Regions from separate parts of the Homo sapiens genome. Here all the other regions are linked to region 1. Evidence: promoter capture Hi-C in 16 types of primary human blood cells and fetal thymus (Javierre and others, 2016). All regions are on one chromosome and are shown on one strand. The core of a region is centred on a gene start or on the middle of the fragment in contact, and the rest is flanking DNA. Distances in the headings are between cores, read along the strand shown.

Region 1 (3,727 bases), core at 1-2,500:
AAGAAAATAATGCTAATTTTCGACAAATGCAAAAATAAATGTTATTGATCTCTCTTACAAACAGAAAACAAAAAGCACTTCATCTAAATAAACCACTGTGAAAAAAAAAATGGCAACCTGACACCAAAGGGTCGTTTTTAAAACTAAAATGTTCAAATGACAGAACTCAAATAATCTGTCCACAGTAATGCTCGGACAACTCTGAGCAAAATTTCGTATTTAGTCAACTGGTAGGCTCGCTCACTAAAGTAGCAATTACACGCATGAGAAGGAAGGGAATTAAGCGGGCTGAGTGCGGGCTGGGTGATTGTGTTTTGAGACCTGCTCACAGGAAGCCACTACATCCTGCCTTTAGTCCCGCCTGTCACGCCGTCCCTCGATTCAAGTCCCGGCCGCAGCGAGGTGGGGCAAGTACAGGTGTCCCGCCGAGCTCCTCCCGGGGCGCTCACCCGCGAACAGACCGCGCGGTAGCCACTCGGGCCCCAGGGCGGCCCGTTTCCTGCAGCTCAGGGCGCCTTTTTCAACCTCTCCCAGGCTCGCCGAGCCCAGGAAACGAACAGCCCCCTCCCCTCGGGCCAGCCCCACTTCCCAGCCCGCCACCTCCTCGGGCCGCGCCTCCGTATAATTACTGCTCGGCTCCCACCGCGGGGCCACTCCCCAGCGCCCGCAGCCGCGCGAAGGCCTGAGTCTGAGGGCGGCCGGAAGCTCCTCACGCCCCCGGACCGCGCCCCCGGCCGCGCCCCGGACTCCAGCGTCCCCGCGTCCAGGCCGCTCCCCACGACCGAGCCCCTCACGCCGGCGCAGCCCGGGCTCTCCCACCCCAGGCCCATCTCCAGCTCCCACTCCCTCCGGAGAGCAGCAGCCCCGGCCCACGCCGCCCCGTCGAGGCGACGCCGCCCCCCAACACACCCCCTTCCAGCCTCAACCGCGCCCGGCCCAGGCCCCCTCCCGGGCCCGCGATCCCAGCGCAGCTCGGCGCCGCCACCGCCGCGAACCCGCCGCCCCCTCAGCCTCGCGCCCAGCGCCGCCAGGGCGTCCCCTCAGCCCAGCCCCCGCTTACAGATCTTGCCCCGCAGGCTCTGCAACACTCGAACCTCGCGACTGTCCTGGTCCCCGGCCTCGGGCTCTGCAGTCGCACTCGCCGCTGGCGCCTCGGAAGAAGCCGCCGCAGCAGCAGGCGCCGCCGCCGCCATGGTGCCGCCCGGCCCGTGCCGCAGCCCTGCCGCCTGCGTAGCCGGGCGAGGCGGAGCCCAGCAGCGGCCTAGGCCCAGGCCAGCCGCGCGCCTGGCCCCGCCCCCGGGCCTCGGCCCGACTCGCCCCGCCCCGCCCCGCCCGCCGCGGCCCCGCCCCCGCCCCCCCCGGGTCTCCATTCACCGCCTTCGCCACCCCCGAGCCGGGCTACCCTGCAGAGAACCGTACTCCCGGCTTGGGGCGCTGGCTAAGGGTAGCTCCCAGTCGTGGCTCTGAGCGGCCTTAAAATCCCCACCAGGAGAACGCCCCGGCCCTCCCGTGATCCCTAAATCCTCCCGGGAATTGGGCTCCCCCAATGAATAGACCTGCACATCTCCTAACGCTCGCGGGAAATACAGGCCCTTCCCAATCAGGGAAACTCCCTGTGGGAAGAAAATAGAATGGAATTTGGCAGGTGGGTGGACCTCAAAAGTATCTTATTCAAAAGGAGGCAAGAGATGCATTTGAGGCTCTTCCAGTATTATCCAAATACTCCCCGCCAGCAAGCCAAACTCCTCCCACACAAATACTCTTTACTAGGACCAATTCTCTGCAAAACCTGGTTCAAGAAAAGGACCAGCCACCCCCAACTCCAGCGTGAGTGCAGTGCCTGAGACCCTCTCATAGAGAAATTCTGAAGCATTTACCATCACTTTTGTATTTCAGGAACAGAAAAAGCAAAGAAGGGCTCCCCCCCGCCACCGCCACCACTACTAAAAGTTGGCTTTGTTAAAAAGTTGACTGACCCTAGGAAATGTGTAAATCTTTGACTAATTGTTAGCTTTATTTCAAGGGAACTCTTTACAGTGAGTAAACTGCATGAATAATACCCTGGTATGTGATGAGGAAGACAATTTCCTGGTGTTGAGGTTGTTAACTACGCTGCCCTAAGAAGGAAGAAACTGTGACTTAATCGGGCAGGGTAATTCTTTTCCAGGGCAACAACAGGAATAAGCCAGTCAGTCAACAAATATTTTTTGAGGGTCAGACATAGTGATGGCCTCAGACCTCAGAGACTACACAAAGGTCAAGATGAAGAGAGCTCCAGCTCATTCTGGAGGGAGACACAGAAAAGGCCAGAGGCACTGGGAGATAAGAAATAGGACGGGGAAACCTGAAAACTGAAGACAAACGCGCCGCCTGTGCAAAGGCTGGACAGCCCCAGAGAATGGTCAGAGTTTAACATGGACCTGGCCAGCGAAGCTTCCAGTTCTGCCTGTGTTGCAGGTGACTTCTATTTCCCCATGTGATCTTTACACTTGTTGGATAAAGTGAACCACTTCCTCTTATATGAATGTTTTGCTGTCATTTCAAACATAAGTCCAAAACTTAATTTCCTGTCTCCCTTTCCAAATCTGAGTTCACATCTTATACTGTTACTCAGGCCAGAAACTTTGACTTTTTCTTATCCCTTGTCCCAATGCTGTTTTCAGTTGCCACATCCTTCTGACTCTGCTGAAATCTCTTCCTTCCTTTCCATTCTCTGTCATTGCCCTTGTTAAAATTATTCTCATTTAAAGAGTATCAACGTGTTACAGGGTTTTTTCCCCCTTATTTTTAAAGGCATCCCTTTTTAGAATCAGACATAGAGCCTGTTTCTACCCCTTTTACATTTGGGCAAGTTACTCAACCTTCCTAAACCTGTTTCTGTTTCTTCTCTTTCTTTCTTTCTTTTTTTTTTTGACAGTCTTGCTCTGTTGCCTAGGCTGGAGTGCAGTGGCACGATCTCAGCTCACTGCAGCTTCAACTTCCTGGGCTCAAGCTATCCTCCCATGTCAGCCTCCTAAGTAGCTGGGACTACAGGTGCGCGCCACCATGTCCAGTTAATTTTTGTATTTTTGGTAGAGATGGGGTTTTGCCATGTTGCCCAGGCTGGTCTTGAACTTCTGGGCTCAAGTGATCCATCCGCGTCAGCCTCCCAAAGTGCTGGGTGTAAGCCACTGCGCCCGGTTGAACCTGTTTCTTTAACAGTAAAGTGGAAATGCTAAACTTTCTTCTTTGAAGGGTTGTTATTAAGATTAAATAAGTATTGGGAGCAGGGTGTTAAGTGTCTAGTGGAATGCTGAGCACGTAGTAGGATTACCTCAGTAACTGACCTCATGCTTTTGACTGGAACTCTGGTAATAAGTCCCCCATCCCTCTCATTCCTCCTACATACCACTTAAATTAACTTTCCTAACAAAAAAAATGGAGCTTATCAGTTGCCTGCTCAAGAGGACATCAGTGGCTTCATTTATCCCTTCAGCCAGCTAGCAAGAGCACACTACAGGTAATGAACAATGCTAGAAATGACTAAAGTTCAAATTCTTCAGCCAAGAGTTGGAACTGGATCCAGCGTACCTGACTCCTCTGATCTCCAGCCACACTGAGCCCCTTTTCTCACCAGCCTGATTCTGGCCTTCCTCCTGCTTGGCCAAGCGATGCCTCATCCATCTATTTCTTTCTCCAATAAACAGAGAAATTATTTGAACCTTTGGACAAATGTATCCATGGATAA
Region 2 (4,266 bases), core at 844-3,343, 180 kb after region 1:
TTTTTTTTTTTTTTCTCAGACTCTGCTTCAAGGGAGACCAGGCTAAGACAATCTATTATAACAAGATTCCGTTTTCTTGGAAAAGCTACATTAGGAAAAAATGGGAAAAGAAACAAAAGGAGCTAGAAATATAAATATCCATAACAGAGATGCAAGAAGGGGATCATCCCCTTGAGCAGAGTAGACTCTTGACTGTAGCCCAAGTGTCAAGTTTACTTATTCACTTGTGTGGACGTAACAGAGTAGGGGGCGCAGGGAGAGGTACCAAGCTAGAGGGACCTGGAAGAGTTTATAGTCTAGCATAATTCACTTTCCAGTCCTGAGTTGGCCACTTACTATTGACTGTGTGATCTTATGTACACGTCTACCTCTGAGCCTCAGAGCTCAGAGCCTTTCCTTACGTGTGAAATGGGGATAATAAATGCCTACTTCAAGTGCTCACTCATACTGTGAGATACACAGACTACATTAGTTGAATGTTCAGCCTAGTGTCCAGCCCATGGTATCTGTTCAACAAATGGTAAGTCACAGCCCTCTGTAATTAGCTTTGGATTGTCTGAAATCAAATTTTTCCTACTGCTTCCTATGTGCATACTTAGCTTCTGCAATAAAATGGTAAGCCTCTCAAAGGCAGTGATAGAAGATCTATTGGTCATCAATAGATACTTATCCCTTTTCTAGAAATGAGTCCAGCTTTCCTGCCCATGCTAGCAGAGACCTTAGCCTCTAGGATTTGCTTGCTTTCCATTCAGGTCAGTTCCCAGGAGGCAGAGTCTGAGACAGACGTGTGTGCAGGGGGTTGCTGGGGAGTGCTCTCAACACTGTGAAGGATGCTGGATGAGGCAGAAGTTGGGCTATGTTGTAGTCACAAGGCCTTGGCTTGACCCCAAAGGCGCTCTGAAGCTGAGATGGCCCCTCAGGGTTGTCCCTGGGCCTTCCGATCCCTATTCTGACCAATCATTGGATGTGGCTGCCCTGGGAAGGAGCATGTCCTTCAGCAGATGGCTCTCTGCTCCAGAGCAGTGCCCTGAAAGCACCGACAGCCAAGCACCACCAGCAACTGGGGGAAGAAGTCCTGAAGTGGGGGATCAGGGTGGCGCAGCATCCACACCTTCAGTGTAATGGTGGCTTTGGAGAGTGTGGTAGTCACTGCGAGTTCTCTACCCAGTACCCACTTTCCCTTTTTTCTCGAGTGAAAGGAGGCTGAGCTTGTTTGGGACAGCAGTGTGCCCAATAAAGATCCTCACTTCCCTCGACTCGTTTACAGCAGAGGTAGCCAAGGGGCCCCACTCTGGCCAGTGAGAGGCGAACAGGAGTCTGGGTTCCTGATGACATAATGGCGCCACTGGCGAAAGTGAAAGGCTTTATTGCTTAGGCCACTGTCATCAGGTTTCGGTAGCACGGAACCAAAGGCAGTCCTAAATGGTTCAGGAGGCATTATCACATACCCTGCTTAAGAGCATGGTCCTGCGTGTGATATGGGCACAGCGGGAATCCCAGCTCTGCTGCACACTAGCAGCCGTGTGGAGCCTCAGACGAACTACTCCTCGTGGTTCCCTTTTCTGTAAAAGTGGGAATGACAGTAGTATTCTCACTACCATTTCAACATATAACACCAGGGTAACCAACTTGTTCCAGTTTGCCTGGGACTTTCCTGTTTTTTAAGCACTGAAAGCCCCACATCCTGGGAAACTACTCAGTGCCAGGCAAACCTGCACAGCTGCTCAACCTATTAAAACACCCTCAAACTACCCTGCTTCCTTTACAGATGGAAGACTGGAAAAATTGTGTTGATGCTGCCCCCTAGTGGTTGAATGTAATGTAACTGCTGCAAAGATACATTTTACATTATAAGTTTTCTTGAGAATAGCAAGCCACAGATGGTTAGAGGCAGAGTTGGAATATTCCCCTAACCATTTAGATTTAAATGTAGAACTGCTTTAACCCTATTATATTATTCATCGATATTTGCCAGCAAATATACTATCTGGTAGGACTATTGTGAAGATTAATGAAATGGTGTAAATTTTCCCATGGTATCTCATATAGTGGTTGTTTTTTTTTTTTTTTTTTTTTTTTTTTTAATGACAGGGTCTTACTCTGTCATCCAGGTGGAGTGCAGTGGCACAATCACGGCTCAATGCAGCCTCAACCCCCGTGGGCTTAAGCAATCCTCCCACCTCAGGCTCCCAAGGACCTGGGACCACAGGCATGTGCCACCACTCCCAGCTAATTTTTTTACTTTTAATTTTTTGTAGAGATAGGGTCTCCCTATGTTGCCCAGGCTCATCTCAAATTCTTGGGCTTAATGTGCTGGGATGACAGGCATGAGCCACCATGCCCAGCTATAAGTGCTCTTCAGTTCACTGGTATCATGTGAACTTGAGTTAGACTCAGCTGTGACTCTTCCTTTGAAAAAGTGACTTCAACCCCTGCCGGGCTCCCCCCGCCTGTTTTCCTCATTCACATTAGGGAACTAGGACTTTCCTCAGAATGTTGTGAAGATTCATGAAGAAACACTTGTGGAAACCACGTAGTTGGCACTACATGGCCAACTTTACTGCTGACAATGTTGTCTGGAAGGCAGGCCTCAGGCCATCCCTCTGCTGAGGGGCTCTGTAGCTCTCAGGAGCTGAGCTGGCCCTCAGGGATGCCTTCTCCTCATCAAGGCCAGTCTCCGCTGGCAGTCGGGCTTCAAGAAGTCCTGCCCAGATGCTCTGATGTATTCAGCCGCTTCCTCTTCAGCAGAAGCTATTACTCATCTGAGCTGGCTCCTGGGCAGGCACAAATACAGGGGGACAATCCAAACATTCAGTTCAGTGGCCTTGGGCAATGGGAGTTAACTGGTGTTTAGGCCAGAGCTTTGTGCTGGCTGCTCTTAAAGCCACAACTGCAACATAAACCCCAGCTATTTTCTGCTACTCGTGGTTGTGTTTAAACACAAGGTGGCACACCCACCCTTGTCTGGACTGCTAAATCTGTTCAGAAGGCTTCCCTGAGATTCAGAGAAACAGAAGCATGTATCTCTGCCTCTCTCTAGACAGTCTTTAAGACTTCTGGAAAAAGGAATCACCTAAATCTTCCAGAAAGTCTAATTCTGCTATGGCTATGAAAACCCTCAAATAGGCTTAATAGCAATATTAGATTAAGATCCTCAATTTCATTTAAAGTGAAGTTAGAGAAAGAATACTTACATCAGGCTGGGCATGGTGGCTCACACCTGTAATCCCAGCACTATGGAAGGCTGAGGCGGGTGGATCACCTGAGGTTGGGAGTTCAAGACCAGGCTGACCAACATGGAGAAACCCCGTCTCTACTAAAAATACAAAATTAGCCGGGCGTGGTGGTGGCACATGCCTGTAATCCCAGCTACTCAGGAGGCTGAGGCAGGAGAAACGCTTGAAACTGGGAGGCAGAGGGTGCAGTGAGCTGAGATTGTGCCATTCTACTCCAGCCTGGGCAAGAGCAAAACTCCGTCTCAAAAAAAACCCCAAAAAAACCTCACATCAATAAATACCTGCACCACAATGAAGGAGCCTCCGCTTTGTTCTGTGTAAAGCCTTGTAGTCCTGTTTTAGTACCTTGGCTTTAAGTTGCCATTTCATGGATTTTTAATGAGATTTTTAAAATATGTCTAATCTATACCATGAAATATTACTCAATGGCTATAAAGAGCCATCTACATTTATATACATCTCAATCAGTCAATCAATCACCTATCATCTTAACATGGAAATATCTTTACGACATACTGATAAGGGTGGCAAGTTAATGAGAAATACTTCTCAAGATGGCCAAATAGGAACAGCTCCAGTCTATAGCTTTCAGCATGAGCACGCAGAAGACGGGTGATTTCTCCATCTCCAACTGAGGTACCGGGTTCAGCTCACTGGGGCTTGTCGGACAGTGGGTGCAGGATAGTGAGTGGATGCAGTGCACCGAGAGTGAGCCGAAGCAGGGCGAGGCATCACCTCACCCGGGAAGCGCGAGGGGTCAGGGAATTCCCTTTCCTAGCCAAGCGAAGCTGTGACAGATGGCACCTGGAAAATTGGGTCACTCCCACCCTAATACTGCACTTTTCCAATGGTCTTAGCAAACGACACACCAGGAGATTATATCCTGCACCTGGCTTGGAGGGTCCCATGCCCACAGAGCCCCGCTCATTGCTAGTACAGCAGTCTGAGAAGCTTAAACTGCGTGGAGCCCACCGCAGCTCAAGGAGGCCTGCCTGCCTCTGTAGACTCCACCTCTGGGGGCAGGGCATAG
Region 3 (4,208 bases), core at 519-3,018, 200 kb before region 1:
TCATAGGATGGAAGTCTGTGAGCTGAATTGATCAGATTCCACAGGCTGTTCATTGCAGAGATATTCCCAAACCAGCTGAGGCCCCATTACTCTTTTTTTTTTTTTGGAGTGTTGAATATGTCAAAGATGAATTCCTCTGATGGCCGTGGCAAAGCCATTTGGTGTTTGGTTTACATGAAGTCACAAGACATTGAGTGTTCTTTTTTCTCCACTTGAGTTTTTCTCTGTTTGGTGCAACTACTTAGTAGTGGAACACACAGCTCATGAAAGAAGGAAGTGATTTAGAAGATGAGGGAAGTGGAAGGAACAGTTGAAACGACAACAGAAAAAATACCTTTTTTTCTCTTTTTCTTCCCTGAAGTAGTTTTCACTGTTACAGCTTCAGACGATTTTGTAATCTGGTTCATAGTTGAACTTCCTCTCTGTTTGGCTGGTTGAAAAAAAAAAGACTTTTTAAAAAGTAGCCTGTTCAAAGTCAAATGAATGGGTTTCTGACACACCTTGATGTTGGTTATGGCCTTTATTTTATGTTCACTTTAGGCAGAGATATTTCTCACAAAAGAGAATGATCTGGCCGCTTGTCAAGATCACATTCACTTCAGTTCAGTCCTGTGGTTTTTTTTTTTTTTTTTTTTTTTGAGATGGAGTCTTGCCCTGTCGCCCAGGCTGGAGTGCAATGGCACCATCTCGGCTCACTGCACCCTCGCCTCCTGGGTTCAAGTGATCCTCCCACCTTAACCTCCAGAGTAGCTGGAATTACAGGTGTGCACCACCCCACTCGGCTAATTTTTTGTATTTTTAGTAGAGACGGGGTTTCATCATGTTGGCCGGGCTGGTCTCAAACTCCTGACCTCAAGTGATCTGCCTGCCTTGGCCTCCTAAAGTGCTGGGATTACTGGTGTGAGCCACTGCACCCAGCTGGGTCCTGTGGTTTTTGTGTTTCTTTCCTTAAAGTCTCAGGGTGAACATGCAACCAAGTAGAGCTCCAAGAACCATCCTGCCAGCCTCGTGTTGCTTCTTCTTTATGTTTCAAAGCTGCCGTCTATAAAAGTGACTCCAAAGCCCTGGAATTAGTAAGAATGTAGCAGGGAGGAACTCTTTTTTGGCATGTTTAAAGCAACATATTAGAACATATCACTCTGGAGTCATTCTGGACTCTTCCTTTCTCTTGTACCCTACATCCAATCCGTTAGGAAGTGGGATAATGCAGAGTCTGACTGCTTCTCGCTGCCTTCCCCGCTATTGCCCTTGTCTCACCTGGGTAGACAGCTCTCTCCTAGAGGTCAACAGCCACCCAACAGGCCTCCCTGCCCACCCGCACCCTTTCCTGCCCACAAGAAGAAAAGGGAATAATGTAAAAATTGACATATTACTTATATTTCAATTCTACTAATTCTGCAAAATCTTGTATTAAAAAGTATTTTAGGCCAGGCACAGTAGCTCAAGCCTGTGATCCCAGCACTTTGGGAGGCCAAAACAGGTGGATCATTTGAGGTCAGGAGTTTGAGATCAGCCTGGCCAACATGGCGAAAGCCCACCTCTACTAAAAAAATATAAAAATTAGCCGGGCATGGTGGCTTATGCCTATAATCCCAGCTACTTGGGAAGCTGAGGCCAGAGAATAGCTTGAACCCAGGAGGTGGAGATTGCAGTGAGCCGAGATCGCCCAACTGCACTCCAGCTTGGGTGACAAAGTGAGACTCCATCTCAAACCAACCAAAACAAAACAAAAAACAGCAAATAAAATTGTATTTCTACACTATAACAAGTAATTATGATTAAGAAAACAAACTTGTCATTGGGTCCTAAGGCATTTGGGCCCCTTTGGTTGTCATCAACTGAAAGCCCCTGTGGCTGACTCTGGCCAGAAGGAAGAGTTACCGAGAGGCCTGGGAGTAGCTCACAGAACAGGAGATCAAACATTTGGTCCTCAAAAAGCAGTGGTCTCAAACATTTTTGTTCCCATAACAACATAGAGGAATATTAAAAAGTTTATGGACCATCTTGCACATTTTTAGGTTAGTATCTAAGATTTTCAACGTCACTTTTTTTTTTTTTTTTTTTGAGACGGAGTTTCGCTCTTGTTGCCCAGGCTGGAGTGCAATGGCACGATCTTGGCTCACCACAACCTCTGCCTCCCAGGTTCAAGTGATTCTCCTGCCTCAGCCTCCCAAGTAGCTGGGATTACAGGCATGAGCCACCACACCCAGCTAATTTTATACTTTTAGTAGAGTTGGGGTTTCTCCACGTTGATCAGGCTGGTCTTGAACTCCCGGCCTCAGGTGATCCGCTTGCCTCAGCCTCCCAAAGTGCAGGGATTACAGGCATGAACCACCGGGCCCAGTTCATCATCACTTTTAAATTTTCAAAAGAGATTTTTAGATTATGGCAAATAGTGACATTTAAAAATAAAATCTGCTATATCATTCCCTTAAGTGTATCAAATGGAATATAAACCAAACCATTTGATACTCGCCATCACTTACCAGAATATCGCAACAACAGAAAACATGAGCAAACTCTTCTTTAGCAATTGACATTTTTACATTATTCCCTTTTCTTCTTGTGTTTTACATATATTTCCATTCTATTTATTCTGTAAAATCTTGTATTAAAAAGTATTTTATAGGCCAGGTGCGGTGGCTCATGCCTGAAATCCCAGCACTTTGGGAGGCCGAGGTAGGTGGATCACGAGGTCAGGAGCTCGAGACCATCCTGGCTGACACGGTGAAACCCCATCTCTACTAAAAATACAAAAAATTAGCCTGGCGTGGTGGGGGGCGCCTGTAGTCCCAGCTACTTGGGAGGCTGAGGCAGGAGAATGGTGTGAACCCAGAAGGTGGAGCTTGCAGTGAGCCGAGATCATGCCACTGCATTCCAGCCTGGGCGACAGAGCAAGACTCCATCTCAAAAAAAAAAAAAAAAAAAAGATTTTATAGCTAATCCTGTTATACTTCTTTGTAATAAAAATGTTACATGTACAAATACTCAAATTTCAAAATTTCTTGGGATCAGGCTGGGCGCGGTGGCTCACACTTGTAATCCCAACTTTGGGAGGCTGAGATGGGTGGATCGCTGCCATCCAGGAGTTTGAGACCAGCTCAGCCAGCGTAGAGAAACCCTGTCTCTGCTAAAAATACAAAAATTAGCTGGGTATGATGGTGGCCTGCACCTATAATCTCAGCTACTCCGGAGGCTGAGGCAGGAGAACTGCTTGAACCTGGGAGGCAGAGGTTGTGGTGAGCCAAGATCACACCACTGCACACCAGCCTGGGTGATGGAGTGAAACCCTGTCTCAAAAAAAAAAAAAAAGTTTCTTCTCCAGTTTTTCATCAATTTTTAGAAGTATGTAATTGATTCTAATTACATAGAAAAATAAATTTTTTGAATGCATTGCTCAGTGAGATGGATAGTGCAGTTTTATTTATTTGTTTTTATAATGAATTCATGTATTCATTGAATATTACTGCTAGCATGAGGCAGAGTTCAGCATCAATTCTATTTCCATTTTTCATTGTTATAGTTGAAATGCTGAGAAACCTTGTTCACACGTGATGGGAATGGAATAGGGTTGCCAGATTTAGCCTCTCTTTCCCATCTACTCCTCACCCTACTGTCTAATATGTGGCTGTCGGCTGAAGTTAAATGTCAGCTATGGAAAGCCATTTACAGGGGAGTAAGCAGCTGTTGTTCTTGTCTGTCCTGCATTTGTCCTCCCATCTGCCTACTCTTTGGGGGACTGCCAATTCCCCACTGCAAATCCAGTGGTGCTGGCAGGGCTGCCCGTCACAGTGCTCTACCCTCCAGGATGGGCGTGGGATGCGTCCTGGCCAATCACATTTCGCTCTGACCTGAGATTGGGCCAAGAGGTCAGTATGTGACCCAAGGAGGGTCAATCAGAATCTCCGTATGGGATTTGACACATAGTCATTGGAAGAAAGAAGCTTTCACTTTCTGTTTGATTACAGTCATGATGATGTAGCCCTGGGACTGTTGGCAGGCACATCAGCTGTCTTTTCCTGCTTGGAGAAAGCCTGGCTGCAGCCGGAGGGAGAAAGGCCAACCCTTGGAAGGGAAGTAGAGTCAAGAGCAGCAAATTCTGGGTCTCCTGGTGGGGTGTTTTGAGCCCCTGAATTCGATCATCTTTGAAGACAGCTGTACCCATGGATGTCCCAGTTATGTCAGCCTATAAACCCATACTGGTCTTT
Region 4 (4,038 bases), core at 475-2,974, 160 kb before region 1:
ATTGCTCTTATAGCAGGGGCTTCATCCCAGCCCCTGTTGGGACCATTGCTAAATTTCAGATCTGTTGGGCACATCTGAAGAATTGACAGCATGGGCTATCTGAAGTTGACTGGATGTGGAAGACCAGGGAGGTTTCCTAAAGGAAAAAGGAGCTAGCCTTATCCGTGGAAGGGGGAGGTGTACATGTACTAATAAGCATGCCTCTGTGGTTGGTTTGATGTGGGAGAGCAGACAGTGGGGAGCAAGGGAGTGTGGTACCCTAGCCAAGCTCCCAGCCTCCCTGCAGGCCCTGGGTAGTTCAAGACCTCACATGGCCTGGTGGCAGTCTTCGGGAGGAAAGGGTGGCTCAGCGGCGCTAACAGCGATGACCAATTAGAGCTGTGTCTGGGCCCAGCAGATGACAGGGGAGGAGAAGGAAAGCAGAGCAACACTTCAGCTGCCTGGGCTAGCTGGGGGATCTGTGTGAAACACCCGAAAACATCTCCCAGGAACTTCCAGGGATCTGAGGTCCAAAAATAGCAAGTAAAGACAAGAACTAGTGAGAGGTAGGCCATATATTATTTTTAAAGTATTTTTGCTATTATTAACATATGCCTTATTTTCATATAAAAATTAAGTGATGCCATAGGAAAGGGAACCCCCGCTACTCACAGTCAGATCTCTGTTTACTGAGGCAAATTATCAACCTGTCAGGTCAAAGTTCAATTTGGACAGACTGGTGTTGAAACAAATTACATTCTGTAGCAGTTCGTGTTCTGCAGTTGCAAGCAACAGAAAATATTTCCAATTAACTAGGGCAAAAAAAAAAAAAAGAGGATGTATTGGCAGAATCCTTGTGATAAGTAATTTTAGTGTCAACGTGGCTAGGCCATGGTACCCAGTTTTTGATCAAACACTGGTCCAGATGTTGCTGGGAAGGCATTTTTTAGATGTAATTAGCATTTAAATAAATTGATTTTGAGTAAAGCAGATCACTCTCCATGGTGTGGGTGATCGCTAATCTAGTCAGTTGAAGACCTTAGGAGAAAAGACGGAGAAGTCCCTCGAGGAAGAAGGAATTCTGCCTCTGGACTGCCTGTGGACTTGAACTGCAACCTCAGCTCTTCCCTGGGTCTCCAGCTGGCAGGCCTGCCCTGCAGATTTCAGACTTGCCAGCTGCTACGATTGCACGAGCCAATTCTTCAAAATCTCTCTCTCTCTCTCTCTCTCTGTTTCTGTCTCTCTCTCAAGACACACCCACCCCCATCCTAGTGGTTCTGTTTCTCTGGAGAACCCTGACTAATACACTGCTAAGGGACAGCTGAACAACTAGGCCTTGGGAAAGGCAGAAAACAGGTCACCCCTGGGGACCTGGGCATGTACCATTGCACTATACTATGTGCCATTAGATGACTCCACAGCACCATGATCTGTGTCTGTGTCTATTCAAGATCCAACTTCTTGAAAGAGGAAGAATTGGCTGGGTCTTTCTATTGCAAGGTGTGGGGTGCTATTGCCAGATAAGAGGTGGAGAGGAAACAGGTCAGAGGAAAAACAATAAACATTCCCTAGAATGAGGTTCCTTGAGGTAGATATGTTCGCTATCAAAGTACACCTTGAAACAGAACCTCTCAAATGCTGTCTTTGACTGACATGGGTCCTCAGCGCAGCCATATGTAAAAGACAGCGCCGTTCAGTGCCAAGCTCCTGTGTTCTGTGTAGAATGGCCAACACAAATTGTTTTTCGTGGTCAACTTTTATGAAAAACTCTCATGGAGGGGAGTTAGATTCATATGAGAAATTCACCCAGAATCAAATATAAAAATAAGTTATATAGTCCAATTTAGAGCAAAAAATAGAGGTTGTAGAATTGGATATGATAATGTGCAAGTTACTTCCTGTTTATTCTTGGCTTCATTCCTGCCCTGGTACACTCTGAACTACTGGGGTTGAGAGGTTGCAAACTACATTTCCCAGGCCCCTTTGCCAACTGGATATCCGTGGGCTCCTCCAATCAAAGGACAGGCAGGAGACCAGAGGGTAGGGAGAAGGGAGGAGAGTCTTACACTGGCCTTCATTCCCTGGCAGTTGTTGGCAGGTCCTCGCAGTTGCTGTTGAGGCAGCAGAAGTAGGGTCATTCCGAGGCCCTAGAAGCCCAGATAGAAGCAGAACATTTTCAGTGGTTTTATCTCTTCATCTCTTTGATGGATTTAGAACTAATTGCAATGGTGGCTCCAAAATTGTGGCAGCAGATGTAGGGTCTCAGAGCCCCACTCAGGGTGATATTAGCAGCTTCTGGTCTTTGGTTATCACTGTTTCTTTTTTTGTTTTGTTTTGTTTCTCCAGCATTCTTTCTTCAACCTTTTGCTCTTCTAGCCCTTCTAACAATTTTGTTGAAAATTCCCCAAATTAGGCCAGGCGCGATGGCTCACGCCTGTAATCCCAGTACTTTGGGAAGCAGAGGCGGGTGGATCACCTGAGGTCAGGAGTTCAAGACCAGCCTGGCCAACATGGTGAAACCCCATCTCTATTAAAAATGCAAAAATTAGCCAGGCATGATGGCACATGCCTGTAGTCCCAGCTACTTGGGAGGCTGAGGCAGGAGAATCACTTGAACCCAGGAGGTGGAGGTTGCACTGAGCTGAGATTGAGCCACTGCATTCCAGGCTGGGTGACAGAGGAAGACTCTATCTCAAAAAAAAAAAAAAAAAAAAAAAAAGAAAAGAAATTCCCAAATTAAATTTTCTCTGTTTGAAATAACTGGAGTGTTTTCTGTCTTTCTGACTGAACTCTGACTGATACAAAAGGCACAAGTGTTGCTTCTGAGTTTCAATGTAAGGAAACTTAATTCCCATATTTAATTTTGGCTCTGTTTAAAATTTGAGCAGACAGTTTACAGTAGTTAGGTCATCTTGGCCTCCTCAATTTTCCTGTTTGGGTTTTTTTTGTTTTTGTTTTTGTTTTTTTGTTTTTTTTTTTCAGACGGAGTTTTGCTTTTGTTGCCCAGGCTGGAGTGCAGAGGCATGATCTTGGCTCACTGCAAACTCTGCTTCCCGGGTTCAAGCAATTCTCCTGACTCAGCCTCTCGAGTAGCTGGGATTACAGGCACTTACCACCAAGCCCAGCTAATTTTTTGTAGTTTTAGTAGAGATAGGGTTTCACCATGTTGGCCAGGCTGGTCTCGAAATCCTGACCTCAGGTGATCTGCCCACCTCAGCTTCCCCAAGTGCTGGGATTACAGGCGTGAGCACCAAGTCCATCCTCTTTTTTGGGTTTTATCAAGAAAGATCTTGGCCGGGTGTGGTGGCTCACACCTATACTCCCAGCACTTGGGGAGGCCCAGTTGGGCATATCATTTGAGCTCAGGAGTTTCAGACCAGCCTGGGCAACATAGTGAGACCTCATCTCTACAAAAAAAATACACAAATTAGCTGGGTGTGGTGGTGCACGCCTGCAGTCGCAACTACTCGAGAGGCTGAGGCAGGAGGATGGCTTGAGCCTGGAGGGGGTCAAGGTTGCAGTGAGCTGAGATTGTGCCAGTGCACTCCAGCCTGGATAACAGAGTGAGACCTTGTCTCAAAAAAAAAAAAAAAAAAAAAAAAGGGAGAGAGAAAGAAAGATCCTCAGGGGCTAAGGAGCATCTTTAAGATCATGTCTGGGTGGAACACAGTGCAGAGGCACACAATCTGGCTGAGAAGACACAAGACTTTGGGGCCTTCCAGAGGGCCACTCCTCCCTGGGGCCGGCCCTTGTCTGTGATCCCAGGTCACCTCCTGCCGGCTCAGGCCAGCTTTACACCCTTGCCCTCACATTTCTGGCCTCACCTGGAAGAGCTCTTGATCCTTCCCATGTGAGTTCACTGTTGACCCTTACCCGTCACTGTCACTGCTTCTGGAAGCCTTATACTGACCACACCTCTTCCTGCAGTGCCTGGGCGGGCCGCCAGGAGGCTCTCTTATGCCAAGTCCAATCACACTGTGCTCCACCAACTCCAGTTGAGCAAACACTAATTTTGAAATAGCAGATTCTGCCTACCAAATTAGCAGTGATTTTTAAAGA
Region 5 (3,916 bases), core at 192-2,691, 170 kb after region 1:
CAAAGCACAGTTAGTACCACTCTGAAAATCACTGTTTCCTGTTTGCTAACAAATCTCATTCTCCTGAAGGACCCTGGTCAATGTGAACAGGTCCCATTTGCCAGTGGCTGTAGGTCAATTTGCTGAATGCCAGTTGTTTCCATTTTACATGTGTAGTCCCTGCCAGTCCCACCCCTTCTCTTCCTGTCCCTCTAAGTTTCTTCAGTTGTTTCCAATCTCTCTTGTTTTTTTTCCACCAGTCCCTCTAAGTGCCTTTTATCTCCTCTCCCCCTCCTCCAATCAATCCTGGTTCTTCCAAATCCCTCCTGGCCCCACACATCCCCCCCTTTACATTCCAGTCCTTTAGTACCTCCCATTGTGTCCACTCCCCTAGCCCCTCCCACTCTTCCCCAGCTCCCTACTACCTCAAAGTGATCACAAGCATTTTAATGTTGATAAGGGGGCCAAATTGCCTACCACAAATGCTGTACCAATTTACATGCACATCAACATTAAACTCAACAAAAAGACTTGATCTCAGAAATACCTTCAATAACCCTATTACTCTTTAACTATCTGATAATATGCTTTGTGAAAATAAACATCTTACTGCTACTTTATTTAGTATTTTTTTGAATACTAGTAATGTTGAAAATGCTGTCATATGTTGGTTGTCCAATTGTGTTTCTGACTATGTAATTACCTGTGATATGGTTTGGCTGTGTCCTTACCCAAATCTCATCTTGAATTCCCATGTGCTGTGGAAAAGACCTGGTGGGAGGTAATAGAATTATGGGGGCAGGTCTTTCCATGCTGTTCTCATGATAGTGAAAAAAGTCTCATGAGATCTGATGATATTATAAGGGGAGTTTCCCTGCACAAGCTCTCTCTTTGCCTGCTGCCATTCATGTAAGATGTGACTTGTTCCTCCTTGCCTTTAGCCATGATTGTGAGGCCTCCCCAGCCATGTGGGACTGTAAGTCCACTAAACCTCTTTCTTTTGTAAATTGCCCAGTCTCAGCTATGTCTTTATCAGCAGTGTGAAAATGAACTAATACATTAAATTGGTACCAGTAGAGTGGGGGCATTGCTGAAAAGATACCTGAAAATGTGGAAGTGACTTTGGAACTGGGTAACATACAGAGATTGGAACAGTTTGGAGGGCTTGGAAGAAGATAGGAAAATGTGGGAAAGTTTGGAACCTCCTAGAGACTTGTTGAATGGCTTTGACCAAAATGCTGATAATGATATGGACAATGAAATCCAGGCTGAGGTGGTCTCAGATGGAGATGAGGAACTTGTTGGGAACTGGAGCAAAGGTGACTCTTATGTTTTAGCAAAGAGACTGGCAGCATTTTGCCCCTGTCCTAGAGATTTGTGGAACTCTGAAATGGAGAGAGATGATTTAGAGTGTCTGGTGGAAGAAATTTCTAAGCAGCAAAGCATTCAAGAGGTGACTTGGGCATTGTTAAAGTCATTCAATTTTATAAGGGAAGCAGTGCACAAAAGTTTGGAAAATTTGCAGCCTGACAATGCGTTAGAAAAGAAAATCCCATTTTCTGAGGAGAAGTTGAAGCCCGCTTCAGAAATTTACATAATGAAGAGCCAAATGTTAATCTGCAAGACAATGGGGAAAATGTCTCCAGGGCATGTCAGAGGTCTTCATGGCAGCCCTCCCATCACAGGTCTGGAGGCCTAGGAGGAAAAAGTAGTTTCATGGGCTAGGCCCAGGGTCCCTGTGCTGTGTGCAGCCTAGGGACTTGGCGCCCCGTGTCCCAGCCACTCCAGCTGTGGCTGAAAGGGGCCAATGTAGAGCTTGGGCTGTGGCTTCAGAGGGTGCAAGCCCCAAGCCTTGGCAGTTTCCACAAGGTGTTGAGCCTGCGAGTGCACAGAAGTCAAGAATTGGGAGTTTGGGAACCTCTGCCTAGATTTCAGAGGATGTGTGGAAACACCTAGATGTCCAGGAAGAAGTTTGCTGCAGGGGCAGGGCCCTCATGGAGTACCTGTGCTAGGGCAGTGCAGAAGGGAAGTGTGGGGTAGGAGCCCCCACACAGAGTCCCTAATGCAGCACTGCCTAGTGGAGCTGTAAGAAGAAGACCACCATCTTCCAAACCCCAGAATAGTGGATCCACCAACAGCTTGCACTGTGCACCTGGAAAAGCTGCAGATACTCAACGCCAGCCTGTGAAAGCAGCCAGGAAGGAGGCTATACCCTGCAAAGCCACTGGGGTGGAGCTGTTCAAGACCATGGGATCCCACCTCTTGCATCAGCGTGACCCAGATGTGAGACATGGAGTCAAAGGAGATCATTTTAGAACTTTAAGATTTTACCGCTCTGCTAGATTTCGGACTTGCATGGGGCCTGCAGCCCCTTTGTTTTGGCCAATTTCTCCCATTTGGGACAGCTGTATGTACCCAATGCCTATACTCCCACTGTATCTAGGAAGTAACTAACTTGCTTTTGATTTTACAGGCTCATAGGTAGAAGGGACTTGCCTTGTCTCAGATGAGATTTTGGACTGTGGACTTTTGAGTTAATGCTGAAATGGGTTAAGACTTTGGGGGACTGTTCAGAAGTGATGATTGGTTTTGAAATATAAAGACATGAGATTTGAGAGGAGCCAGGGGTGGAATGATATGGTTTGGCTCTTTGTCCCCACCCAAATCTCATCTTGAATTCCCATGTGTTGTGGGAGGGACCTGGTGGGAGGTAATAGAATCATGGGGGCAGGTCTTTCTCATGCTGTTCTTTTGATAGTGAATAAGTCTCATGAGATCTCATGGTATTATAAGAGGAGTTTCCCCGCACAAGCTCTCTTTGCCTGCTGCCATCCATGAAAGACGTGACTTGCTCCTCCTTGTCTTCAGCCATGATTGTGAGGCCTCCCCAGCCATGTGGAACTATAAGTCCATTAAGCCTTTTTCTTTTGTAAATTGTCCAGTCTTGGGTATGTCTTTATCAGCAGTGTGAAAATAGACTAATACAGCCTGTTAACATTCTTTTTCCATTTTTCAATTGGGTTGCCTTTTTCTTACTGATTTATTTTTTATTTATCTTGTGAATATTTTTCTTCTACATATACCCTGTCTTCTAACTAACTGGGCTGAGACAGATTGAATATTCCTTAAAATGCTGTTATACAGATATAAAGGAATACTGGCCAACAAATATTTTGCAGAAATGTTCAAAAACTGTTAAAAGAATACCATCCAGTATGAATTGCCAAAAACCTTGTAAATAAGTAAAAGGAGCAAGTAAATGTGGTGAATTGGTCAATCATTGAATTGGCTTTTAGCAAATTAGTCTGTTTATTTTACCAGCATGTCTTCTCAAATACCTCAAAATATGACATCACTTCTTAGTTTTATATTTCCATTTTCCCCTCATATTCATTACCTTTATTTCTTTCCTTCTTTAATCATGTAGGCAATATATTTTATTGTGGAAATAATTTAAATATATACAGGGAATTGTAGCAGGCATTTTTTTGTGCCTACCTAATAGTCATGCCCTGTCTTCCATGTTGGCAAAGCCCAAATTTTGCTCAAGTATCTACTAATCTTGTTAATTGAATTATTTAATTCTCTAATATTATCACAGGAGCTGGGTGTGGTGGCACTCTCCTGTATGCCCAGACACTCAGAAGGCTGAGGCAGGAGGATCACTTGAGCCTAGAAGGTTGAGGCTACAGTGAGCTCTGATTACACCACTGCATTCCAGCCTGGGTGACAGAGCGAGACCCTGTTTATAAAGAAATAAAAATAAAAATAATTTTATTATAGCTTGTGTATCACTTATCCAAAATGCTTGGGACCAGGGGTATTTTGGACTTTTTCAGATTTCTGAATATTTGCATTATACTTACCAGTTCAGCATCCTTAATCTGAAAATCCAAAATCCAAAATGTCCAGTAAGCATTTTCTTTGAGCATCATAT
Region 6 (3,932 bases), core at 578-3,077, 230 kb before region 1:
ACACACACACAGGCATCGTGTCAAGCATTGTTACTCAAAGAACCTCAATCCAGTTATTTTGGAGAATGATCTCTCTTTTTAAACCCCTCCCCCAACCCCAAACCCAAGATGATGCATTGGCCCAATGTGAGACCAAAGACACCCCGAAACCAATTTTTACCAATCTACTCTCTCTAGTTTGGATACTTCTCCTAGGTAAGTTGGTAGAATAAGGATTTTTGGTTGCTTTAAATCCTTAATTCGTTTATTTACTCAAAAGATATGGTATGATATAACGTAATGCAGGACTTCCTGGTTTAGATTTTACATACCAGCAAATGTCCAAAAGTTTAGAGCGACAGACAAAGGTTTGGCAACTTTTAGTATGTCAAGAAATAACAACTATCCACACCGTAAACGAGCAAACATTTTTACATCAAATTAGTAAGGGCATAGTCTGAAAACAAAGGGTAGCTCTTTAAATCAAATAACTTTAGTTTTATGAAAAGTAAACTGTACTGTCATTACGTTTGTAATTTCTTTGAGGACTATTGAAAAAAAATGTTTTTTGAGACAGAGTCTCGCTGTGTCACCCAGGCTGGGGAGAAGTGGCATAATCTTGGCTCACTGCAACCTCCATCTTCCAATTTAAGCAATTCTTGTGCCTCAGCCTCCCAAGTAGCTAGAATTCAGGCATGTGCCACCACGGGAAATTTCTTAAAGTGCAGGCCTTGCACTGGACTGCTGACTGGTCTTTGGGACTCTCTGGCATCATGAGTGAATAAGAAATCTGGGCAAAGGCCTGGACTCCTGGTCAGCTTCAACCTCTTGTCAAATCACGTGTCAGATCATGTGATGACGGCAGGCTATGTGCCCTCACCTCCTTCATCTATAAAACTGGCCTGAAAAAGGCTGTTCTGTCTGTTTCGTAAGGTTGTAGTGAAAACAGAATGAAGTCATTTCTGTGAAAGCATTTTGCAAATGCAATGCCGCTGATGGTATATTGAGTGCATACTTATTACATGCATATTATGTACCTAGCACTGCAGGGATTAAGAGAGGTTTGACACATGGCCTCTGCTCTGAAAGAAGTTATATGACTATCAATAAAGCAATTTCAAGCCCTTACCATGGGCTGCAGGTATGAAATTTCAGTTAGGGTCCACATTGAATATGAGTCTACTTTCTCGCTCATTGTATATATTTTCCACTGATTCAGCAGCTGGAATGCAAGGCCAGAGCTGAATGGTCCTGCCAGACTCTCTCAAAGGTCTTGCTCTTGAGGAAACAGTCGGCCTAGTCAGGATTTGACCAGCCTTGGCTTCCTGAACTGCCTGGTTGTGTGCACTGTCTTCAGACAAAATGAGTGGACAGCAGGGATGTGAGGCGGAACAGAGGGTCCACAGAAGGAGGTCAGGAAGTGAGGAGGACAAACTTCATAACTCAATGATTCTACATCTAGGTCGACTCCAGAGGCTTTGGATCTCACCACTACACCATGCAGCCTCACATGAGCTAAGGTTTGATGGAGCATTCACTACACGCCAGCTGTGACCAGGGCCACCCACATGGTTAAGTGCTTGTGCCCTGCACAAGGTGCCTTCCAAGAGGGTAAGTGGGGCTGAAATCAAACAGAGATCTGCTTGCCAAATGCTGGGCTCCAAAGCGTGGACCTGGAAGGGGAATTTCCTCTGATTCATTTGCCAGAGGTGGTGACTTTGTAATTCATCTGTGCAAAATATTTCAAGTTCAAGACCAGCCTGGCTAACATGGTGAAAACTCGTCTCTAAAAATACAAAAATTAGCCAGGCATGGTGGCGAGTGCGTGTAATCCCAGCTATTTGGAAGGCTGAGGCAGGAGAATTGCTTGAACCTGGGTGGTGGAGATTGCAGTGAGCTGAGATCACACCACTGCACTATAGCCTGGGTGACACAGCGATACTCTGTCTCAAAAAAAAAAAAAAAAAAAAAAGACTTAAATTGAACTTTCAGAAATTAAAAAGTACAATGTCTGAGATAAGTAAAACACATTGGATGGACTTTGTAGCATAGTAGACATTGTAGACAATATGTGAAGACATAACAACAGAAACTACCCAAAGTGAAATGCAGAGGACAAAAAGACCGAAAAAAAAAGAACACAACATCATTTAGCTGTGGGACAAAATCAAGTAGCCTAACCTATATATAATTAGAGTTTCAGAAGAATAAAAGACAGGAGTGATAGAAAAAAAATACTTGAAAAGGAGTGGTCTAAAATTTTCTAAATTTGATGAAAACTGCAAACGCATAGATCTAAGAAGTTCAACAAACTACAATCTGAAAAAACAAGAAGAAAGTCACACTAAGCATGTCATACTTAAATTGCTGAAAACCAGTGATAAAAAGAAAGTCTTAAAAGCAGCCAGAGGCTGGGCATGGTGGCTCACACCTGTAATCCTAGCACTTTGGGAGGCTAAGATGGGCGGATCACTTGAGGCCAGGGGCTTGAGACTAGCTTGGGCAACATGGCGAAACTCTGTCTCTACTAAAAATACAAAAAAAATTTAGCTGGGCATATTGGTTGCACGCCTGTAGTCCCAGGTATTTGGGAGGCTGAGGCACAAAAATTGTTTGAACCGGGGAGGCAGAGGTTACAGTGAGCCAAGATCACGTCACTGCACTCCAGCCTGGGTGACAGTGAGACTCTGTCTGAAAAAAGAAGAAGAAGAAGAAGAAAAAGCATACAGAGGAATAAAAACAAATTATATACAAAAGAATAGAGATAAAAATGATGTCTCTTCAGAAACAATATGAGCAGAAGATAGTGGAGCAACATCTTAAAAGTATTAACTGTCTGCTGGGAGTGGTGGCTCACACCTATAATCCTAGCACTTTGGGAGGCCAAGACAGGTGGATCACCTGAGGTCAGGAGTTTGAGACCAGCCTGGCCAACATGGTGAAACCCTGCCTCTACCAAGAATACAAAAATTGGCCAGGTATGGTGGCAGGCGCCTGTAATCCCAGCTACTCGGGAGGCTGAGGAAGGAGAATCACTTGAACCCAGGGGGTGGAGGTTGTAGTGAGCCGAGATTGCGCTACTGCACTCCAGCCTGTGCGACAGGAGTGAGACTCCATCTCCAAAAAAAAAAAGTATTAACTATCAATCAAATATTTTGTACCCGGCCAAAAAAAAAAAACTTTATAAATGAAGGCAGCATAGACTTGTTAGATATACAAAGGCTTAGGGAATTCATCACCAGCAGACCAGGATTACAAGGCATGTATAAAGTAAGTCCTTTAGACAGAAGAATATGATATCACATAGAAATGTGAATATAGCCAAAGGACTAAAGAATGCCAGAATGGTAAATATGTGAATAAACATAAAAAACTCCCCCCTTATTAAAAAAACAACTGCTTAAACTAGACATAATAATAATGTATCCTTGGATTTATAACACTGGTAAAGGTAAAATATATGACTACAAAAACACAAAGGATAGGAAGAGAATGGAAGTATACTGTTGTAAGATTCTTATACTATAAGTGAAGTAGTATAAAGTTATTTGAAGGTAGACTGTAATAAGTTAAAGGTGAAGGCTGTAAACACTAGAGCATCCACTAGGAAAAAAAAGACTAAGAGGTATAGCTCACGAGCCAATAAAAGATATAAAAATGGACTTATAAACATTACTTAATCCAAAAAGCAACAGAAAACTAGTTTAAAAGGAACAAGGAACAGATGAGACAAATAGAAAACAAATGGCAAGATGATAGATTAAAAACCAAACAAACCATAAAGATAATCACATTAAATATAATGGTCTAAACAATTAAAAGACAAAGATTGTCAAATGGATAAAAAAAGAAGTTCTCAGCTGTATGCTGTCTATAAGAAACCCAATTTCAATATAAAAACACAGATAGGTTAAAACCAAAGGACGAAAACAGACAAATTATGTAAATATTCA
Region 7 (3,699 bases), core at 892-3,391, 200 kb after region 1:
CATGCCTAAACTCTATAAGAATCAGCATGAAAAGAAGCAAAGATAAACTGTTCTAATGGCAAACCCCTGCTGTCTGAAGGCCCAGTTAACTTTGAAAGTGCTTTAAAAATGGCTGCCAAAATGGGTTTATTATCTATCAACAACATAAAGCTAAAAAAAAAATCCATCTTTTAAAAATACGTTTTTAAATTAGAGAATACTAATCCAGACATGTAATATAGTCTAATAAATCACCCTGGATAGCTAAAGGGAGTTATGCCTTTCCACAAAAACAGGGTACGTTATTTTGCCTGAGGCTAAAGCACATAAATGTTTGCAAACTGGGAAATAAAATGTCCAGACTGACAATGAGGCTGCCAAGAGTAATCCACATAAACAAAGGCTATCCATCAACAGGAGTCAAATGTTCTGCACCAGGCCATTATTTCAGGTTGGAGCTTTTTTTGAGGATCTGAGAAAGCTTTGCTGCCAATTTTAGAAATGGAATTTCATGACTGGAAGTGTTTGCTGAGGTGACCCAGGTTTTCAGGGCATCTGACTGCTTAATGATATCTAACTGCATTCATTCCAATGTTTTTTATTTTTGTTTTTTTTTGTTGTTGTTGTTGTGTTGTTTGTTTTTGGCATGCAAAGATGAAGATTTGTGGAAGAAAAACTTCATTTAAAGAATAGCTAACAGGCCGGGCATGGTGGCTCATGCCTGTAATCCCAGCATTTTGGGAGGCCGAGGTGGGAGGACTGCTTGGGGCCAGGAGTTTGAGACTGGCCAACATAGTGAGACCATGTCTCTACAAAAAATACAAAAACTAGCCAGGCATGGTGGCGCAGGCCTATAGTCTCAGCCACTCAGGAGGCTAAAGCAGGAGGATCACATGAGTCCAGGAGGTCGAGGCTGCAGTGAGCTGTGATTGTACTACTGTACTCTAGCCTGGGTGACAAAGAGATACCCTGTCTCAAAAAAAAAAAAAAAAAAAAGAAAAAGAAAAAGAAAAAAAACATTTGACAACAAATGGCTGTATCTTTTTAGTGGAAAGCAGACCAGGTAACTCGAGTCCTGGACCTGGATCTGACTACCCAGGCCTTGTCTGCCTGGTCCACTGCTCCATCCCTGGAGCCCAGAGGGTGCTTAGCACATAGCAGATGCTCTAAAAATATATGTGAGTGAATTCAACTGTGAAGTGTCCCATCCTTGGATGTTTCATGAAAATAGCAAGCCTTCCATAATCTGTAGAAATGAATACGATAAGTTCCCATACGGTTTGTTAAAATATTCAGATTTTGATGAAAATATAGTCGGCCCTCCATCTCTTCAGATTCTGCATTGGAAGATTCAACTGTGGATCCAAAAATACTTGGAAAAAACCCAATAAGAAATAACAATACAACAATAAAAATAATACAAATAACAACTATTTACACAGCATTTACATTGTGTTTGGCGTTATAAGTAATCTAGAGATGATGTAAAGTACATGGGAGAATGTGCGCAGGTTCTGTGTAAATACAACACCATTTTACATAAGGGACTTGAGCATCTCAGATTCTGGTATCCAAGGAGGATCCTGGAACCAATCCTCTATGGATGACTGTATTAAAACTAAAGGCTAGTGTGGATGAGACTAGTGTACTAGTCGTACACTAAAATCTATTCTCTTCTTAAGAACTTGGTTAGATCCTATTTCTGAGGTCCTGAAATGAGGTAAAGCCGCATTCGCCAACAGAACGGAAAGATGTATGCCACTTCTGGGTTCAGGCTTTCTGATCATGTGTATGCCCGGTTCACATTATCTTCCTTCCTTCCAGCCATTATTTAGGCATGGCAGCAACCAGGGTTCAACCATGTAGCCATCCCCAGGGGATGGTAGAAACAACAACCTGGAAGAAACCTGGGGCCCTGAATGACCAGGTGGAGCTGACTAGCACAATCTGGAACACACATTTCAGACCTTCACATGAGGAAGAGCTAAACTTCCTTGTTATTTAAGGTAATGCATTCATGAGTCCCTGTGCTACAAAATAAACTTACAAAATAGGTGTACCCTGACTAATGCAGACATAATTATATCCATGAAAATAAATTTTTCTTTAGGAAAAACTCATATTATTGTGGGCTCATTGAAAATCTGCTTTCATAATGAAAACTGAAATAATCAAAAGTGTTACTATCTTAAGCCTTCAAGTCATTCACTTTGGAGTCCTTATCTTCACTTTTATATGCATTATTCACATCTATTTATGCCACAAAGTTTGAGGCTGAACCCCAAGGCTAATCCACACACCCATGAGAACATTTATTGTTTATTTAAAATCTCAGCAATGACTGAGTTCTGCACAGAATGTTAAGGCAAGCAGAAGAGGCAGACGACCAGTGACACTGTTACCAGAAAACACAATCCAAAAGAGCATACATAGCTGGAAACTGGAATCACATTAGATTTTTAAAGTTCATGCCAATTAAAGAATTTATCATCTTACATATTAATAACATGAGATTATGAAAAGATAAGCCCAGTGTACTTTTCTTTGTTTTTAGCTTTCTGGACCTTTTGGTCTTACTTGATGTAATGCATTGCCCTGCTTTCCTTAGCTCTCATAACATTGCTCTCCTGACTTTTCCCCATTTGCAACATCCCTGGCCCCTTTTGAAATCCTTTTTCTCTCTGAGTACCACATGCTGGTGCTTCCCAGGACTCTGGTTTTGGCCCATCCCTCACTCCTCAGGTTCTGTCTGTAATATAAGCCCACAGCTTCAAATGCCATCAACATGCTGAAGATTCTCAACTAAACCTCTTTTTCCCAGCAAGCCAGTGCCCCTGAGCTGCAAAATTATACAGACTAGGCCAGGCAGGGTGGCTCACACCTGTAATCCCAGCACTTTGGGAGGCTGAGGTGGGCTGATCATGAGGTCAAGAGATCAAGACCATCCTGGCCAACATGGTGAAACCCCATCTCTACTAAAAAATAAAAAAAAAAAAAAATACAAAAATTAGCTGGGCATGGTGGCGCGTGCCTGTAGTCCCAGCTACTCGGGAGGCTGAGGCAGGAGAATCGCTTGAACCTGGGAGGCAGAGGTTGCAACGAGCCAAGTTCATGCCATTGCACTCCAGCCTAGTGACAGAGCGAGACTCTGTCTCAAAAAAAAAAAATTATACAGCCTATTACTGACTAGAAACTGTCTCTTGAATGTTTCATGATAGCTCAAATGTAGCACCAATGCCTGTACTAACTTCCCCCCATACCTCCCTTCTGTGTTCTCTAATTCCAGGGAGGGGTACCACCACCAGCCAGACACCCAGTCAGAAACCTGGGCCCCATCGGGCCTGCCTTTCATACCCCTGTCCAACCTGCCACCAAGTCCTATTGATCCCACCTTGTAACCTTCTCTAAGACCCACTCACTCTCTCCATCTCTGCTGCCACTTCTGAGTTTCAGCTGCCATCATTTATTCATTCAACAAACATTTAATCACACCCCACCACTCATATGTCAGTCACTGTCCTAAGCACTTGGAATGCAGCAGCAGTGAACAAAAACAAATAAAAATCTCTGCCCTTAGGGAGGTTATATTCTAGCCTGGGGAAGCAGACAATACACAATGAACACTCTGTGTGTGTGTGTGTGTGTGTGTGTGTGTGTTTGTCTGGGTTAGAAAGTAACAGATGCTGTGGCAAAGAGAAGAGCAGGCTAAGGGGGCTGTGG

The links. The method cuts DNA at HindIII sites, captures the fragments that hold promoters and counts their contacts. A CHiCAGO score of 5 or more calls a contact.
Region 2: a contact is called between a fragment that was not itself captured here and the fragment with the promoter of RASA2 in region 1, in 4 of 17 cell types (activated CD4 T cells, non-activated CD4 T cells, total CD4 T cells and 1 more). The highest score is 6.9, in activated CD4 T cells.
Region 3: a fragment that was not itself captured here is called in contact with the fragment with the promoter of RASA2 in region 1 in 2 of 17 cell types (neutrophils and monocytes); the score reaches 10.8 in neutrophils.
Region 4: a contact is called between a fragment that was not itself captured here and the fragment with the promoter of RASA2 in region 1, in 1 of 17 cell types (neutrophils). The highest score is 7.2, in neutrophils.
Region 5: a fragment that was not itself captured here is called in contact with the fragment with the promoter of RASA2 in region 1 in 9 of 17 cell types (naive CD8 T cells, total CD8 T cells, naive CD4 T cells and 6 more); the score reaches 7.5 in naive CD8 T cells.
Region 6: a fragment that was not itself captured here is called in contact with the fragment with the promoter of RASA2 in region 1 in 1 of 17 cell types (neutrophils); the score reaches 6.1 in neutrophils.
Region 7: a fragment that was not itself captured here is called in contact with the fragment with the promoter of RASA2 in region 1 in 1 of 17 cell types (non-activated CD4 T cells); the score reaches 5.5 in non-activated CD4 T cells.

The regions. Positions count from the first base shown.
Region 1 is chr3:141,484,550-141,488,276 of GRCh38, reverse strand. It overlaps RASA2 (RAS p21 protein activator 2), which reads right to left and starts at 1,250. Exons shown (of 24, transcript NM_006506.5): 1 at 1,061-1,250. The coding sequence starts at 1,193. RefSeq lists a silencer at 462-1,341. The HindIII fragment of the contact is 5,296 bases long and covers 1-2,435 here.
Region 2 is chr3:141,301,111-141,305,376 of GRCh38, reverse strand. LOC124909441 (a long non-coding RNA gene) reads right to left here and starts at 1,544. Exons shown (of 4, transcript XR_007096119.1): 1 at 1,449-1,544. The HindIII fragment of the contact is 4,192 bases long and covers 1-4,189 here.
Region 3 is chr3:141,686,654-141,690,861 of GRCh38, reverse strand. It overlaps the pseudogene LRRC78P. Among named protein-coding and RNA genes, the nearest start is that of RNF7, 50 kb to the left of the region's middle. RefSeq lists an enhancer at 4,007-4,208. The HindIII fragment of the contact is 4,356 bases long and covers 1-3,946 here.
Region 4 is chr3:141,644,914-141,648,951 of GRCh38, reverse strand. No RefSeq gene overlaps it. Among named protein-coding and RNA genes, the nearest start is that of RNF7, 91 kb to the left of the region's middle. The HindIII fragment of the contact is 6,213 bases long and covers 1-4,038 here.
Region 5 is chr3:141,317,033-141,320,948 of GRCh38, reverse strand. It overlaps LOC124909441 (a long non-coding RNA gene), which reads right to left. Exons shown (of 4, transcript XR_007096119.1): 4 at 1-1,674. Among named protein-coding and RNA genes, the nearest start is that of ZBTB38, 50 kb to the left of the region's middle. The HindIII fragment of the contact is 8,550 bases long and covers 1-3,916 here.
Region 6 is chr3:141,717,010-141,720,941 of GRCh38, reverse strand. It overlaps the pseudogene LRRC78P. Among named protein-coding and RNA genes, the nearest start is that of RNF7, 19 kb to the left of the region's middle. The HindIII fragment of the contact is 6,066 bases long and covers 1-3,932 here.
Region 7 is chr3:141,282,421-141,286,119 of GRCh38, reverse strand. The region is part of intron 4 of PXYLP1 (2-phosphoxylose phosphatase 1); the gene reads right to left. Among named protein-coding and RNA genes, the nearest start is that of PXYLP1, 52 kb to the right of the region's middle. The HindIII fragment of the contact is 3,358 bases long and covers 463-3,699 here.